Linked DNA regions of Homo sapiens: region 1 is linked to region 2. The links are contacts of gene promoters, found by promoter capture Hi-C in human tissues and cell types (Jung and others, 2019). All regions are on one chromosome and are shown on one strand. The core of a region is centred on a gene start or on the middle of the fragment in contact, and the rest is flanking DNA. Distances in the headings are between cores, read along the strand shown. Region 1 holds the start of IQCF1 (IQ motif containing F1). Region 2 holds the start of ALAS1 (5'-aminolevulinate synthase 1).

Region 1 (2,941 bases), core at 276-2,775, 290 kb before region 2:
ACTACACTAGAGATGGTGTTAAAGGAATAGCTGAGCAATTAGGGGCTACTAGCCGGATGGCTTGGGAAAATAGGATAGGCTTAGACATGATAATAGCAGAAAGAGGAGGAGTTTGCCTCATGATTAAAACTCAATGTTGTACCTTCATCCCAAACAACACTGCCCCTGATGGAAGTATAACAAAGGCATTGCAAGGTCTGACTGCCCTGTCCAATGAGTTAGCCAACAACTCAGGGTTAAATGAGCCCTTTACAGGATGGCTAGAAAAGTGGTTCAGTAAATGGAAAAGAATTATAGCCTCAATTCTCACTTCCCTGGCAGCCGCAATGGGTGTATTTATTCTTGTTGGGTGCTGTGTCACACCATGCGTCCGTGGGTTGGTGCAAAGAGGCTCATAAAAACAGCACTTACTAAAACCTCCCTTAACTATTCTCCACCTTATCCAGAGAAGCTTCTTCTTTTGGAAAATCAAGCAGAACATCTAAGCCAAGACATGTTAAAGAAGTTTAAAGAGAAAGAGCTGTAAGGAAATGCAAGAGGAGAAGTTGTTAGGTATGAGTTCTAAATTTCTCTTCAAAGAATCAGTATGTCAATATGTTCAATTCTTTGCCTTCTACTTTTAAACTTAACTTCCTTGTAAAGCAACCTTTTTCAATTACCTGCTCCGCCCTGACTCATTCTGATTACCTACTCCCCCCTGACTCATTCCGATTACCGGCTCCACCCTGACTCATTCCAATTACCTGCTCAGTCTCCACCCTGACTCATTCCGATTTCCTGCTCCGCGGTAACCATTTTTCCCACCAAACCACTCACCCCATCACTCTCTTTAAATTAGCCAATCAGAATTAGTTTAGCCTGTGTGGTCTAACCCTAGCCAATAGGGGAATGACACAGCAGCAGGGGCCACGTGCATCAGGGATAAGAACCCCTTCCCCTCCCTTGTCCAAGTGTGCACTCACCATTGCTCCATCTGTAAGGGCGCACCCTTCTATAGAAGTACCTTGCCTTGCTGAGAATTAAAAAGAAAATTTTATATTTGAGTGCTATTTCTTTTGCGGCACAGAAACTTCACTTATAACAGCACCATGCAAAAGACACTAGCTACTAGCACTAGGACATGGGATCAATGACATCCAAGTCAGGGCTCCTCCTACCTCTGCCTTTGACTCTGCTCCTAAGGACAAATGGGTTGGCATCTCCTTCTGCTGAGGCTCATCTTCTTTTGAGGGTTCCTTCGTCTTTTGGGGCTGCTTCTCCTCCTGCAATCAGCATTAGGGGAAAGGCAAGAGTGAGGCTGCGGTCCCTCCCTCTCCATTCAATATGGCACACATCCCCAGCTTCCAGGGCTTCTTAGAGTCTTCAGTGTCAGGGGGTCCCTTCACCCTGAGAGATCTATGGGGACATCCCTAACAAGCCTGGTGTGTCTGGCTTTCTCTTACCATTGGTCACATATGGATTGATTGTAGATGGTTCAAATCCCCTCACATCTGTGTTCATCCAGCCATAGCATAGGCAGGAAGGGTGGAGGAAGAAAGGCCTGTGATGTCATAAGGGCACCTGTGACTCAGGCACCAGATGGCTCCTAACAAGTGAGCCCCCTCCAAGGGAAAGACAAAAGCGCTGCCCATTCTTTTCTGCCAGAAATGGCCAAAGCCCTGACTTCAAAGGCAAGATGCCAGAAATACTGGCCCATTGCTGTAAGGTTTATAAAAAGCCAGTCATTTCTAATAACATTTAATTGAAAAAACTTGGCCAGGCGCAGTGGCTCAGGCCTGTAATCCCAGCACTTTGGGAGGCCGAGGCAGGCAGATCAACTGAGGTCAGGAGTTCGAGACCAGCCTGGCCAACATGGCAAAACCTTGTCCCTACTAAAATTACAAAAATTAGCTGGGTGTGGTGGCTGTCACCTGTAATCCCAGCTACTCAGGAGGCTGAGACAGGAGAATCGCTTGCACCCAGGAGGTGGAGTTTGCAGTGAGCCAGGATCATGCCACTGCACTCCAGGCTGGGCAAGAGAGCAAGACTCCATCTCAAAAAAAAAAAAAAAAGAAAAGAAAAAACTTATATAGCCAACTTAAATAATCAATAGGGGATTAATTTAATGATGCATAGTTCATTCATACTATAAAATACTACATAACTATTAAAAATAAGAATTTGATCTATATTACTAATGAGGAAATATATAAAGATGTATTTATAAGTAAAAAACTAAAGTTCCTTTTGATCCCACTATGCAAACAAAACTAGGAACATAATTATACACATAAAATTGAATAATTTATGCCAGAAGTTATTACATGATACACATTATATGTTGTAAATGAATATAAAGAAGAAAAAAGGTATATATACCAAACTATTACCAATGATTACCTTTGGAGAGGAGAGTTAAATTGCTGACTCATGCCTAACACAGTCCCCAAGGAACCCCATGAGGGCCTGAGGACCAGCCTGGACTCCATCTGAGGCTCAAATGGGTCCAAGTGCTCTCCTGTCTTCCTCTGTCCCTGGGGTCTCAAGGCCACAATCAGATGGATGAAGGTGGCCACTGCACAAGCATGGCCCCTTTCTGCCTGATCTCGGCCTCTGAAGACCCAGCTGGACAGGGTAAGGCCATGAGAGGCACAGCCCCTGGGGTCACTGAGAAGTGCACTTGAAATGTATAGGGTGAGTATGGGAGAGGCCAATGTGGATCTGTAGGGGGAATGTAGGGAAGAGGAGGAGGCCATTTGAGGCTGGGATGTGAAGTTAATGGGATGAGGGGGTGGAGAATATGGGAATACATTGAAAGATGTGGGAAGTTGTGGGTGTGATATAGTTTGGCTCTGTGTCCCCACCCAAATCTCATCTTGAATTTTAACTCCCGCAATTCCCATGTGTTGTGGAAGGAACCTGGTGGGAGGTGACTGAATTATGGGGGCAGGTCTTTCCTGTG
Region 2 (3,044 bases), core at 480-2,979:
CCCTATGAGGGCCAGGCGCAGTGGCTCAAGCCTATAATCCCAGAACTTTGGGAAGCTGAGGGTGATCACTTGAGGTCAGGAGTTCAAGACCAGCCTGGCCATCATGGTGAAACCCCATCTCTACTAAAAATACAAAAATTAGCTGGGCGTGGTGGTGTAATCCCAGCTGCTCAGGAGGCTGAGGCAGAAGAATCGCTTGAACCTGGGAGGCAGAGGTTGCAGTGAGCCGAGATTGTGCCACTGCACTCCGGCCTGGGCAACAGAGGGAGACTCTGTCTCAAACAAACAAACAAAATAACAACAACAACAAAAACAACCTGTGAGGCAGGCATTTCAGGGATTATGATCCTATTGCCCAGATAAGGAAAGCAAGGCCCAAAGATGAGCAAAGCACTCAATATCATCCTTATTCTGTTCCCACTTCCAGCTGCACTTGGGTCCAAGTCCAAGTGCTGACCTTTTCTCTCTCATCTTCTCTGGGTGATGGGCACTGCCCAGGATCTCTTGGCTGAATGGCACAGAACTGGGTCTCGAGCTCTCAGACCAAAGCCCTCATCCTGGACTGGTCCCACTGCCACTCTGAACCCAGGTGCCTCCTCTGAAGGTGGAGACTCACCTCACCTGCCTTGCAGCCAGCTGGGTGCTCAGAGACAGAAATGCAAAGTACCTGGACACACCCTGGTCACCATCATTCTGGACTTTGTCCCTCTTGTTAATGCTCAGCTGGGAAAGGAATACCCTCAAAGGCCCTTTCCTCAAGAATGGAGGAGAGTACCTCTGAGCCTGGCACAGGCCCAGCCCAACACAGCCCAAGCCAAGCTGGGAAGGGTGTGGGGCAAGGAAGCCAGACTGACATTCCTGAGACGGGTTTGCCAAGCCCTACACTTTATGTGTTGTACCCGGGAAACTCAATGGAGGTATGGCCCAACGCTGACCTTTGGCATGGAGGCCTAAGCCACCCTGCTGGTGCCCAGGGTGGCCAGCAAGGGGCTTCAGACAACCCTGGATGGAAAATAAAAATAGTGGCTAATATTTGTTACACGCTAACTATTGTCAGGCCCTGTGCCTTCCCCTCCTCCCCAAGTGCTCAGAGCTGTGGAGTGGATGGGTTCCACCCTAGCCCTGTTCCTCTGTCCCCTCTGGATCATCTTAGACCAGAAAGTGCCACAGCTGAGTGTCCCGCTTCTTCCGCATCCTGCCAGGACCACTCCATTTGTGGGCGATATAGCCAGCTCCACCTCCTCCGGGAAGCCCTTGTTCACAGTTTCCAAAGCAAGCCGCAGGCGGGATGGATCCTGCTTAACACCCCGGCCCAGAACCCCTTGGATCTCCTTCTTCCTCCATGTCCAAGACACCCAGCTTAACAACCCTGTAGCCCCCAACTTGGCCCTAGCGGCACCTCGCCTCGACCTTGCCATTTTATACTCAATTGGGGCGTAGGGTTCTGAAGCCCAGGGTAGTTGGTGGGGAGGCAGCACGAGGGTGCAGGATGAGGTCGGGAAAAGAGACCTCGTCCGCCCACCGCCTAGCGCTTCCTCCTCCCTGCAGGCGAGCCGGGGAATCCCCGGCAGCACCGATATCCGCAGAGCCCAAGAAGTGGGCCTCTCTGCCCCGCCCCCCCGGCTCGCCGAGGGCTACGCGGCGCGCCTGCGCAGAAGAAGGCAGCGCCCAAGGCGCATGCGCAGCGGTCACTCCCGCTGTATATTAAGGCGCCGGCGATCGCGGCCTGAGGCTGCTCCCGGACAAGGGCAACGAGCGTTTCGTTTGGACTTCTCGACTTGAGTGCCCGCCTCCTTCGCCGCCGCCTCTGCAGTCCTCAGCGCAGGTGAGGGCCCGCGCGGTAGGTGCGGCGCCGGCCGAGGAAGCCCCGGGGTGTCCTGCCAGCCGTGGCACCGCTGCCCCGGGTGCTGGGACCCCATCCCCCACTGTCCCAGTCACCCGCCGCCTTGAGGTCAGCGTTTATCCTCCAGATCTTTTGCCTAGACGGCCGCCTCAGTTTCCCCCTTTCGGCCCCTTCCGGCTATTCCCGGTTGAACCCGCCGCTTTAGAATTCCCTTCTCATACCCCTCCCGTCATTCTCGAGACCTCGACCGCGGGTCACCTCTGACCCCCACTGCCGGAGGACTGCCTTCTTTCTCCAGACTCAACTCCCTCGACTTTATAAGCCCCTGCGCGTCCCCAGTGAGGCCCAAGGCGCTGGCCCTCATACCCCTACCCTCATTTGTGCCCCTCCTTTCTCAGTTATGCCCAGTTCTTCCCGCTGTGGGGACACGACCACGGAGGAATCCTTGCTTCAGGGACTCGGGACCCTGCTGGACCCCTTCCTCGGGTTTAGGGGATGTGGGGACCAGGAGAAAGTCAGGATCCCTAAGAGTCTTCCCTGCCTGGATGGATGAGTGGCTTCTTCTCCACCTAGATGTAAGCCAAGATGTCTTATCTGCACTGTGCATCTCCCTAAGAAACCTCTGGCCTCCCAAACCTGTTCTTGACCTTTCCCTCATCCTTCCGCCCCCTTGATTATGTACTGTCAGTATTCATTTGGTGAAGTTGCTTTGCAGGTGCCTTTGTGTAGCGCTGGAGAATGAAGAAGTTGGTGACCCGGGTAAAGTGTGGTCACCATTCCTTAGCTCACATCAGTGCTGTCCTTAGGCATTTTTGAGGGAGAAGTGTTAGTATTCCAGGGTACCCTTTATATAAACTGCGGTTGACACCTGAATCCAGTGAGCTTGCAGTGATATTTGCCTGATTATTAACAACTGTTGATGTCACTCTTCATCAGTCTTTCCACAGGAGCCAGCATACTTCCTGAACATGGAGAGTGTTGTTCGCCGCTGCCCATTCTTATCCCGAGTCCCCCAGGCCTTTCTGCAGAAAGCAGGCAAATCTCTGTTGTTCTATGCCCAAAACTGCCCCAAGATGATGGAAGTTGGGGCCAAGCCAGCCCCTCGGGCATTGTCCACTGCAGCAGTACACTACCAACAGATCAAAGAAACCCCTCCGGCCAGTGAGAGTAAGTGTCATTGACAATGAAGGAGCAGGTATGG

What was found. Contacts are between HindIII fragments. The study calls those that stand out against the background at their distance.
Region 1: a contact is called between the fragment with the promoter of IQCF1 here and the fragment with the promoter of ALAS1 in region 2, in 1 of the 25 tissues and cell types used here (adrenal gland).

What each region holds. Positions count from the first base shown.
Region 1 is chr3:51,901,828-51,904,768 of GRCh38, forward strand. IQCF1 (IQ motif containing F1) reads right to left here and starts at 1,526. Exons shown (of 4, transcript NM_152397.3): 1 at 1,443-1,526; 2 at 1,158-1,262. The coding sequence starts at 1,445. RefSeq lists an enhancer at 84-1,283. The HindIII fragment of the contact is 7,615 bases long and covers 1-2,941 here.
Region 2 is chr3:52,196,431-52,199,474 of GRCh38, forward strand. It overlaps ALAS1 (5'-aminolevulinate synthase 1), which reads left to right and starts at 1,730. Exons shown (of 12, transcript NM_000688.6): 1 at 1,730-1,825; 2 at 2,242-2,418; 3 at 2,780-3,010. The coding sequence starts at 2,812. RefSeq lists enhancers at 1,272-1,341, 1,352-1,571 and silencers at 1,712-1,781, 1,892-1,971. The HindIII fragment of the contact is 15,330 bases long and covers 1-3,044 here.